Linked DNA regions of Homo sapiens: all the other regions are linked to region 4. Evidence: promoter capture Hi-C in human tissues and cell types (Jung and others, 2019). All regions are on one chromosome and are shown on one strand. The core of a region is centred on a gene start or on the middle of the fragment in contact, and the rest is flanking DNA. Distances in the headings are between cores, read along the strand shown. Region 1 has its middle 40 kb from the start of LINC02005. Region 2 has its middle 9.9 kb from the start of LINC02005. Region 3 overlaps LINC02005 (long intergenic non-protein coding RNA 2005). Region 4 holds the start of PDZRN3 (PDZ domain containing ring finger 3).

Region 1 (2,700 bases), core at 175-2,674, 140 kb after region 4:
GGTAAACTCCTGAGTCCATTTCGCTTTTAGATCAGTGCTATCCAATAGGACTTTCTGCAATAATGGAAATGTTCTGTATCTACATATCCAAATGTTCCAAATCTGTACAGTCATAGCCACTACTCACCTATGGCTATCAAGCACTTGAAATGTGACAGTGCACCTGAGGAACTGAATTTTTAATTTAAATTTTAATTAATTTAAATTCAAATGGCTGCATGTGGCTAGTAAATACTCTATTGGAAAGCACAGCTCTAGACTGTGTCCTTCTTCAGGCACTGATTCTCTGTGCTTGACACAATGCTTGGCACATAGTAGGGGCTCAGGAAATATTTACTGAATCCAACTAGTGTATATACTTACGGCAATAATCCTGCTGGGCAGATATTACTAACTCTAGTAATTTCATCTTTGTATACCAAAACAAGCCAAACCAAAATGAAATGGAATAACAACCGAACGTGGCTCAGTGAAGTTCAGTAATAGAATTGGGATGTGAATGACAATCTGTTTAAAATAAATCCTCTGACCTTTCTGTTCCCATGGGCAGTGCTTTGGTACCTGTGAGTACATTTGTATGTAAGTGGTTGCACATGCAAGATAGGAGGAGACAACATTTCATAGAACAGCTAATTGTCTCCATACAATTAGACATGCAAAGATTTGCTCGTATAAAAGCCAATAGAAAGAAATAAAAAGAGGGAAGCTGGCACACTGCTAATACAGCTTTAGTATTGTGCAAAGACTTAAAGGGTATATTGGCTAAATGGATCTCTTCTAAAAGAGAAGAACTGCATCATAAAAGAAAGGTTACAACAGCCAACAAATTGGGCAGCTGCTATGCAATTTGTGATTGTTAACTTTCAAATGTTGATAGCCTCTGAGTTGGCAGATGATTAAAATGGTGGAGGTAATGCTGACATCTTCTGGTGATCAGTCACAGTTAACTGGTATTTCAGAATGTTAAAAATTCCAGAAACTGGGCAATCATAGTTAACCGAGCCTTTTAATTTACCATTACTTAAACTTACGCATTAAAAATAGTTCCAAAATTATTTTAAATTTGAAAAAGAAAACATTATCATGCTTCAAAATTTGCTTTTTTGAAATTTTTGAAATCCAACCATCTGGAGTTTTTCAACTCCTTCTCCTCATTTAGCCTAGCTTGCCTGCTGAAACAATCTGATAACATTTTTAGTTGGCTTTCCTCTGATTCACGTTCTATCTCCTGACAAATGATTGCATTATGCTGTATTCTGATGGGACTACATATAATCATGGAGCCTGATACAATCTGTAGAGTTCCTTCCTGTCTGGATCAAATCTATTTTTAGATTTGTGTTGAAGGGTGCACCTGAAGACACGCAGTTGGGCCAAACTTTGGGATTTTGTGATTGCACTGAGTCAGATACTCCTCATTTAAAGAAGTCTTTTTAATTTTTAAATTTTACTTTAAGTTCTGGGATACATGTGCAGAACGTGGCGGTTTGTTACGTAGGTAAACATGTGCCATGGTGGTTTGCTGCACCTATCAACCCGTCACCTAGGTATTAAGCCCCACATGCATTAGCTATTTGTCCTGATGCTCTCCCTTCCCTCACCCCGCTGCCTACAGGTCCCGGTATGTGTTGTTCCCCTCAGTGTGTCCATGTGTTTTCATTGTTCAGCTCTCACTTATAAGTGAGAACATGTGGTGTTTGGTTTTCTGTTCCTGTGTTAGTTTGCTGAGAATGATGGCTTCCAAAGAAATTTTTAAGAGAGCTACAGTTACAACAAACTGGGATACATTAATAGTATCTGTCAGAAATTAGAAGTCATGCTCCCATCTTGCTCAGCCATGAGTTTTCAAAAAGCAAAATGGGACATGGGATTTTGACATACTATTAGTTGGGCTTTCTTCAGAAGGAGCTACACTTCGTCTAGTGATTTTATAGTAAGAATCACATTGAATATTCCTCTGTTTCTACATGGGTAGGGTACTGGGAGTAAGAGAAGCAATATGAACCTTCAGAAGTAGATGAACAAGAGAAAAGAAGCATTTGTATTATGTCTGGTTCATATATAGATTATATATGCAGATATGGGCTTCAGTGGACTTGTAGTGACAGTTGGTAGGAAGCCCATCCCATCATCAAACTTCTCCACTCCCAGGGTTCCCCTTCCTGCAGGATCCAGCTGCCTCAATGGGTCATTGCTCAACCTTCAAGCATTCATCAGTCTTCGATCTAAGCAGTTCTTTGGATATACCCTACTAGGGATTAATTACAATGATGCATACTCACTCATTCTTTGATTCAACTATTCATTCAACAAACATTGTTGAATACATACTGTCTGATATGGTGCTAGGGACACAAAATAGAAGGAGAAATGTTCCCTGACTACAGAGAATGCATTGCTTCATCTTATATATACTGTATATCATTAATGAACCTTTTTTGTATGCCAGGTACTATGCTGAATATTTTATAACTATTATATTAGTGATTCATTTGTTTAACAATATTTACTCAGGGCCTGATCTGTGTCAGTCATTGTGCTGAGTGCAAAGACGAAATGGTACCAAATTAGATATGGTTCCTTGTCTCATGAATAATTGCTGTCTACTGAGGAAAGCAGACAAGTAAACTAGAGATTACAACATGGTTTGTTTAACTTTTGCAATTCATCTTGGCCACTCAGCATTTGATTACCTTTCTA
Region 2 (2,834 bases), core at 329-2,828, 170 kb after region 4:
GTGGAATCTTTCAGGCAGAGTGAGTCTCATGAGGTCAACCTGGCCAGCATCCTGCTTTTGGGCAGGATATACATAAAGGACACCAGAAAAGTGACCGTCCTATGGCAGATATCCCTCAAAAAGGCATATTCAACTTTAATGAAGTAACAGTTCAGGGCTGAACTTACATTGAAATTGACAAATGTAATTTTGAATCTCTCATTAAGGCTGTCCAATTTTTGAGTTAGACATAAAAGAATGCTGCAATTGCAGACTTCCTGCTCATAATGTAAAAACTAAAAATTATACATTTCTGATTTATATTTTACCTTTTTGATACAAAATTCAATGACCTAGCTCCATAACACACATTTTAAACTTTTGTTCCTTTCCTTCTTAATTGACCACCTAAGAGTAAAATTAATCCTTCTGGGGTTAGAAGTAGTTCACATTTGGCATGCCTAATAACTTCTTTCAAACTTATGGTTTTCATTAATTTTCAACACACTCAATCATTAGAATCAGTACTCTTGCTTTCCAATTTGTACTCATTTAAAAATAAAAGCATAAAAGCTAAATTCAATATGTTGGTTGTACAGTTTGAGGATCACCTGCAGACAATAACGCCCTTTATTTACAGAGTAGTTTACTTTTCTCTGAGCATTTCAGATAGTCTTGCAAAAGCACTAGTTTCTCTGAGAATACACATTTGAAAGAACAGCCATCTATCAAAGGACAAAATGAGGTTATTAAAATGGCTTTGTTAACTGCAATGATTGTGGCATCAGAAACTAGGGCTTGAATTTCTTTTTTGAAAGTGGAGAAAATTAATTTTCTTTGAATGCAATGTTTGCCCGATTTAGGAACAGCTGCTCCATTTCCAACTTTCTAATCTTTTCTTTATAGAACTAAATAACCTGATGACAAGTTTTACACTTAAAAGTTCTCAGGAGATAATTCCTTGTCTTGTAAATTTTGATACAACAGCAAAATAGGCTAAACACAATAGAAAAGGCATGTGAAGAAATGTTCCATAATGGTCATTAGTGTGGGCTCTGACATTGGGCAGGCCTGAATTGTGCCCTGGCACTGCCACTTACTAGCTATGAGACTTTGGGGAAAGCCACGACAAGTTTGTACCTCACTTTCTTTACCTGTAAAATGGGAGATAGCAGTACTTGTTCATAATCGCTGGGTGAATTAAATAATAGGAGGCATGAAAATATTTTAGAATAGGGCCTGGCTTAAAAATATATTAACATTTTGTTGTATTCACATATTAATAATTACTATTATTTTCCCTATAGCAATCATTATTCTTTTACTCATCTACCACTAACCTTTATTTATTATTTTACCGGTATGCTGACTACTTTCCAAATAATTTTAGTCAGTTTAAAGGAAAACCAGAGGTATAGTAAGACCCAAACCAACTAATATAAAAGACAAAAATCTGAAAGAGAAATGGACCAATTCTGATGAGAATTCCTGGTTGAAGAAAGACACAGTAATGAACATACAACTTAGCTCTGAGAATCTTACTAACCAGGGCAAAGAGGGAAACACAAAGGATTCAACAATTGAGTAGATTGTCATCTAGATGAAAATATTCCAGTTTGTTTTAATTATCAATAGCAGCATAACAAGCTACCCCAGAACCTGTGGTTTAAACTATAATGATTTATATTTTTTCAGGGTTCTGTGGGTTGGCTGAATGATTGTTCTGCTGATCTTGCTTGGGGTCACACATGTGACTTGGGATCATATGTGTAGTTGACGGATCACTGGAGGCTGTGATCAGCAGGGGATGTTTATCACAATATTTTATTTCATCTCCATGTGGTGAACTTGAACTTCCTAGTAGCATGGCAGTCTCAAGTTAGCCTTGCAAGAGGGAGAATTCCGACAGGATAATCCTTAATATACAAGTGCTTATTGAGTCTCTGCTCGTGTGATGTGTCTCATGATAAAATCAAATCATATGACTAATTTCAGAGTAACCCAAAGTTGGAACGCCAGAAGTCATGGTTTATGCGGTCCACAGTCTACCACAGTTTCTTAGGACAGGCCGAATTAGAAATAATCTGGAACTCATTAGCCCCTATAACTTTTTTTTTTTTTTTTTTTTTTGAGCTGGAGTCTCGCTCTGTTGCCCAGGCTGGAGTGCAGTGGTGCGATCCCGGCTTACTGCAACCTCTGCCTCCCAGGTTCAAGAAGTTCTCCTGCCTCAGCCTCTTGAGTAGCTAGGATTACAGTCATGTGCCACCATGCCCAGCTACTTTTTGTATTTTTAGTAGAGACGGGGTTTCGCCATGTTTGCCAGGCTGGTCTCGAACTCCTGACCTCAGGTGATCCACCCGCCTCAGCCTCCCAAAGTGCTGAGATTACAGGCATGAGCCACTGCACCCAGACCCCATAACCATTTTTAATATTTGCTTTGTATAAACAGCTGTCTTCATGCTTTATATGCTTTTAATTATTAAATCTTGCTTCTCTGTGTTACATTCTTCTTCCCTTTACCCCCTCCATAGTGAGACCACCAGTCTATGGCTTATCAGCCTCTATCAGCCAGAAGCTACAAAGATTTTGTTAGCCTTCTGTCTCCAGCAGCCCTGAAACAATTTTCTCTACTTTTTTGCTGATGACCCTCCATACCTTCTTTACTAAAACCGAAGTCCAGCAGTAGTCCTGTGCATGCTGTCGATGGATGCAAACACTTCAGCAAATCTTGAGCTGTGATGAATCACCATTCATGTAGTTGTAGGAGGTGTGAATTAGACCAACTGGAGAAACATTCAAAGTACAGATTCCTGGGCCTATTATAGCCTTACAGAGAGGTCATATGGGACATTCTA
Region 3 (2,700 bases), core at 28-2,527, 230 kb after region 4:
ACTGAATCATGCCTCTAAGTTTATTTTGCAAATTTGTAATAGGACATTATCCTTGTCCTCCATCAGACTGAGGTGGTCTGAAGTATGCTCTGTGTATAATTTCCCTTCAGTTCCTTTTTACTGTCATTGTCCCAGCATACTCAATATTGACTCTAGCTTCAGGTTCCTGGGCTGTCTCATTGTGCTTGCTCTGGACACAACTTCAATGCACTTGCTGTAATCTATCTTTCTTTCTTTCTTTTCTTTCTTTCTTTCTTTCTTTCTTTCTTTCTTTCTTTCTTTCTTTCTTTCTTTCTTTCTCTCTTTTCTTTCTTTCTTTCTTTCTTTCTTTCTTTCTTTCTTTCTTTCCTTCTTTCTTTCTTTCTCTCTCTCTCTCTTCCTCCCTCCCTCCTTTCTCCTTCCTTCCTTCCTTCCTTCCTTCCTTCCTTCCTTCCTTCCTTCCTTCCTTCCTTTCTTTCTTTCTTGATGGAGTTTCTCATTTTCACCCAGGCTGGAGTGAAGTGGCATGATCTTGGCTCACTACAACCTCCACCCCCCTGGGTTCAAGCGATTCTCCTGCTTCAGCCTCCTGAGTAGCTGGGATTATAGGCGCCGGCCACCATGCCTGGCTAATTTTTGTATTTTTAGTAGAGACAGGGTTTTGTCATGTTGGCCAGGCTGGTCTTGAACTCCTGACCTCAGGTGATCCACCCGCCTCGGCCTCCCAAAATGCTAGGATTACAGGCATGAACCACCGTGAATGGCCTGTAATTTCTTTTCAATACTACACTGCCTGCTGTAGTCACTAAATGAATATGCATGGACAGATAGGTGGTTGGAAAAAATAGAGTTGAAAGTAAGGACATCCTATGTCAGTCTCTTGAACCGAATAGCTTTAGAGCTGCATTTCTCCCTTAAAAATGATTCCTTGATATTCCATCTTTACCATTCATTACTGCTTCATCGCTCATGAAATGGCATCTCCCCAAAGGCAGACTCTTGATATTTTTCTTGCCTGCTCCTGGAGAAGTTAAATAATGCAAACTTGTTCTAGTGAAAAGCTTCTGAATATCTTAACAGACCATGGAAATATTTTCTTCCTAACATACTTCCGATTTTATAATTTTCAGTCACGGAAGAGGTATCAGATCACTGGTCCTAAAATTCTCTTTCTTGACTACTTTGTGGATAAGTCTCTTAAAAATCTCTGATTAAAACATGCATGCAGAAGCATAGAACAAAAAGGAAAAAGAAGGAGGACAAAGGGGGAGAAACCTAATAAGGTAGCTGTGATTCACAGAGAAAAGCCAAAGACTTAGAACTGTAGGAGTTTCTTTGTTTTTTGAAAGTTGGCCTAGAGTTCAAACTGATGTACATCAGAGACGTTGTGGAAGGGAGAAGGAGATGAACCTTGCCTTACTACAATGGTGGGTTTCACTGCAGTGATCTCAAAAATCTCTGTTTCTGAGGGAAATTCAGTACACAGGATAATCTATGAATTAAGCACAGAAAGTTCAAGTACCTTGAACAAGGTACGTGAACAGGAATTTAATATATAAGTAGTCTGACTCTAGAGTCTGTGTTTTCAATATAAATTGATTGAATGGATCAATGTGCTAAGTGTTTTAAATACATTATTTTATTTATTATTGAGAGACGTCTTAGTCCATTTGGACTGCTCTGACAAATTACTATAAACTAGATGGCTTATAAACAAGAGAAACCTATTTCCAACCATTCTGGTGTCTGGGAAGTCCTAGATCAAGGCATCAGCAGATTTGGTGTCTGGTGGGGGCCCACTTCCTGCCTTATAGAGGGCACTCTCTTACTGTGTCCTCATATAGGAGAAAGTGTCAGGCAGCTCTTTGGGGCCTCCTTTAAAGGGTGCTAATCCCTTTCCTGATCTAATTGCATCCCACAGGCCCACCTCCTAATACCATCACATCAATGATTAGGTTTCTTTTCTTTTCCCTAAAAAACAAAAAACAGATGTCCCTCCTTCTGAATAATGATTAGGTATCAACATGTGAATTTGATGGGGGTGGGGACACAAACTTTCAGACCATAGCAAGGGGATAGTAGTGTTTTCAGATTTGTCGATGAGAAAACTAAGACTTAAAGAGATTAATTACTCAAGGACACAAGGCTAGTAAGAGACAGAACCAATATTTAAAATGTAAATCTGAAGTTATAGCATTCAAATTTCATCTGAGAGCTTTCAGGTATGATTTATAAAAATAAAATAATAGCTACCATTTCTAGAGCTTGTGTTTAAGCTTTATCATGTAATCCTTACTGTACAATTTTTTTTTCCCATTTTAAAGTTGAATACATTGATGTTTGGGAACATTGAGATGCCAAAGATCTCATAGGCAGCAAAGAGGAGAGACAAATATTTATTATGATATGTCTGACTTAAAGCCCAAGCTCTTCATTTGCGCATTTTTTTTTTTTTGTTGCTTTTATTTTATTTATTTTGAGACAGGGTCTTACTCTGGCACCCAGGCTGGAGTGCCATGGTGCAATCTCAGCTCTCTGCAACCTCAACCTTCTGGGTTCAAGTGATCCTCCCACCTCAGCCTCCAGAGTAGCTGGTACTACAGGCTTGCACCACCATGCCTGGCTAATTTTTGTGTTTTTTGTAGAGACAGGGTCTTGCTATGTTGCCCAGGCTGGTCTCGAAATCCTGAGCTCAAGCCATTCACCCACCTCGGCCTCCCA
Region 4 (2,774 bases), core at 264-2,763:
GGGGTGCCTGGCTGTGTTTTTACTCTGTATACCACGTCTCTAGGGACCATAGTTTCCAACTTTAGAGAGGTTAAGCAGCTTGCTCAAGGTCAGCCAGCTAGTTGGCTGCAAAGCCCACGCTTGCATCCAGCTTTTACCCCAGAGGCCTCTCTTCTGATATCCTTCTTAACTTAATCTACACTGGCTGTGGGTTCCCTTTATTTTTTTTTCTGGAATCCTAGAGGATGCACGGATACAATTCACCCAATGTGTCCATCTCTCCTCTCCTAAGTGTCAGTCTATAGGTTTCTGACCTCTAGAGGGTAAGCAACTTGCCCGAGATCCCCTAGCTGGTCTGAGCAGCAAAGCCTTTGAACGCAGTTTTGACTCTGGAGCTGCATTCTTCATTCTTATCCTACACTTGCTTGTGAATTCTTTTTCGTCCTTCCAGAATCCCTGAAGCTGTACAGCTATACTTTACCGGTTACGTCTAGACTATAAAGGACCACAGTGTTCCACCTCAGGCAGGTTCAGCGACCTGCAAGTAGTGATACAGCTGGTAAGCAGTGGAAGAAGAGGGAGGAAGCAAGGATGTTCCCGGGAAGCTCGGGGCATCCCTGTACCCAAAGGGATGGGGCGGGGCCCTGGGTCCCCAGGGATCCTGGCTGGAGGTCGGGGCGGGCAGCAGGCGCCTACCTTGCCGCCGGGCGGCGCGGCCACGCAGCGGCTGAGCGAGTCGAGGCGCGCGCTGTATTCGGTGAATTTCTTCTGGTAGCGCAGCGCGGTCATCTGCAGCTCAAGCTGCGCCGCGGCCAGCTGGGCCACCAGCGACTTCTCGCGCTTCCCAGCGCGCAGCGCCTCCTTCTTGAGCGCCTTGTGCAGCGCGCCCAGGCGGGCCTGGAGCGCGCCGTTGTGCGCCCGCAGCGCTCGCGCGCAGCAGTGGCCGCCCGCGCGCTGCTCGCCGTGCGTCAAGGGTAGCCCGCAGCCCTCCTGGCAGCGGCCCACTGGCCGCGCGTCGCAGGCGTCGCGCATGTGCGCCTCCACGTCGCGCCGCAGCAGCACCTGGCCGCAACCCGCGTGGCGACAGCGCGCGGGCGCGAAGTCGCAGCGCTCGAGGTGCTCCGGCAGCTGCTGCAGCTTGACCACCCGGCCGCAGCCGCGCGTCGCGTACGCGCACTTGATGTCCAGCTTGAGGATAAGGCGCTTGAGCGGCAGGACGTGGTTGAGCTCTTTGGCCGACAGGCGACCGCGGCAGCGCGCCGGGCAGCTGCCCTCCTGCACCACCCAGGGCAGCACGCAGCCGGCGCAGAAGACGTGGCCGCACGGCGTGGTCAGCGGGTCCTCCAGGACCTTGTGGCACAGCGCGCACTTCAGGTCCGGGTCCACGTCGCCGTCGAAGCGGTCCAGCTCGAAGCCCATGGTGGCGGCCAGGCCCCGGGGTCGCCGCCGGGCGGCCGGGCGCCCCCTCCCTCCCCACGAGGCGGCCCAGACAGGCCGGCTACGCCGCCCGCGCGCTCGCTGGCTCTCCCCGGACTGAGCCTAATTGATCCAGACTTCCTCGGAAAATGCCCGAGGAACAGGACTCCTCCGGCCGTATTTGCGCGAGCGCGAGCGCACATACATCGTGCCTTGGATGCCTCCCGCCAGCCCCCCGAAAAAGGGAGGAGGCTGGAAGGCAGAAGCGCGTGGGAGGACACTGAGGCTCGCCAGAAGGGACGGGCCAGCCCAGGACGCCAGCCTGAATCTTCTCGGGAAACTCCTTTCTGTTCTCTTACAGTCTACGCTATAGGAGACAAAACGCCAGCCGAGAAAAGCTCGCTGAGTTTGGAGCTGAGGCTACTGCTTTCTCCCAAGGGTTCTCTTCGAGCCCCTTCCCGAACGGATCAAAACTTTTTTACTCCCTTCTCCCTCCCCCTTCCTCTAGTGGCTGATTGCAGAGGACTAAAAATATCTTGGGGCCCGCTATCTCAGCACTTACGGTCTTTATTTATTTATTTCATTCCAGGGAAAGTTACAGAGCCTGCGGGAAGCTCCGGCTGCAACTTCAGTTCTGACCAGAGGTTCTGTGAACCTTCAGGATTTAGCAGGTTTCCAGGACCGGTGGGTGAATCTACCCGGGGAAGTTTTGGTGGACAAGAGCTGCTCGCCAGCTGTCGGAGTGGGAGAGGCCAGCGTGCTGGCTCCATCCACTTCACCTAACACCTCTGAAGTGTCTGCCCTGCAGTGTGGCAAGCGTGGTGCTGAGCGCTTCTAAATCCGTCGCTTTAAAGATCATTAGTACAATGTTGTGAGAGGGTTAGCTCCATTTGAAAATTATTTTCCCGTGATTACAAAAGAAGCGATGCTGACTGCAGAAGTTAGAACTGGGAGAAGACTCATCACCCCCATGATCATGTCAACAACTGCCCTCCTTCAGTTTTGGTTTGTTTTGTGTGTACACTCTGTCATCTTTCCATTGAGGAAACTCAGGCTAGAAGAAGGATAAAAACAAAACAGAAAACAAAACAAAACAAAAGTGCCCTGTAGGGTCCTGTAGGTCAGTGTTTCTCACATTTTAATGTGGTTGCGGTTCTGATACAGTGGGTCTGGGGCGGGTTCTGAGAATCTCCATACTGAAAGCACTTCCAAGTGATGCCAATGCTGCTAGTCCATGCTGGTCCTTGGATTCCCACTTGATTGGAAAACCCTGGCGATCCATAGATCTGGACATTCATTCCCTGCAGTACAGCAAACCTGGCTGGGTAGGATTCAGCAACAGTCCTGAGCAATGGAGGAATATTTTTGGAATTCCAAAC

The links. The method cuts DNA at HindIII sites, captures the fragments that hold promoters and counts their contacts. A contact is called where the count stands out against the background at its distance.
Region 1: a fragment that was not itself captured here is called in contact with the fragment with the promoter of PDZRN3 in region 4 in 1 of the 25 tissues and cell types used here (aorta).
Region 2: a contact is called between a fragment that was not itself captured here and the fragment with the promoter of PDZRN3 in region 4, in 2 of the 25 tissues and cell types used here (IMR-90 fibroblasts and aorta).
Region 3: a contact is called between a fragment that was not itself captured here and the fragment with the promoter of PDZRN3 in region 4, in 2 of the 25 tissues and cell types used here (bladder and mesenchymal stem cells).

The regions. Positions count from the first base shown.
Region 1 is chr3:73,767,875-73,770,574 of GRCh38, forward strand. No RefSeq gene overlaps it. Among named protein-coding and RNA genes, the nearest start is that of LINC02005, 40 kb to the right of the region's middle. The HindIII fragment of the contact is 6,566 bases long and covers 1-2,700 here.
Region 2 is chr3:73,797,914-73,800,747 of GRCh38, forward strand. No RefSeq gene overlaps it. Among named protein-coding and RNA genes, the nearest start is that of LINC02005, 9.9 kb to the right of the region's middle. The HindIII fragment of the contact is 9,206 bases long and covers 1-2,834 here.
Region 3 is chr3:73,856,776-73,859,475 of GRCh38, forward strand. The region is part of intron 2 of LINC02005 (long intergenic non-protein coding RNA 2005); the gene reads left to right. Among named protein-coding and RNA genes, the nearest start is that of LINC02005, 49 kb to the left of the region's middle. The HindIII fragment of the contact is 3,452 bases long and covers 1-2,700 here.
Region 4 is chr3:73,623,428-73,626,201 of GRCh38, forward strand. It overlaps PDZRN3 (PDZ domain containing ring finger 3), which reads right to left and starts at 1,514. Exons shown (of 10, transcript NM_015009.3): 1 at 676-1,514. The coding sequence starts at 1,398. PDZRN3-AS1 (PDZRN3 antisense RNA 1) reads left to right here and starts at 141. Exons shown (of 2, transcript NR_046681.1): 1 at 141-538; 2 at 1,985-2,774. The HindIII fragment of the contact is 5,146 bases long and covers 1-2,774 here.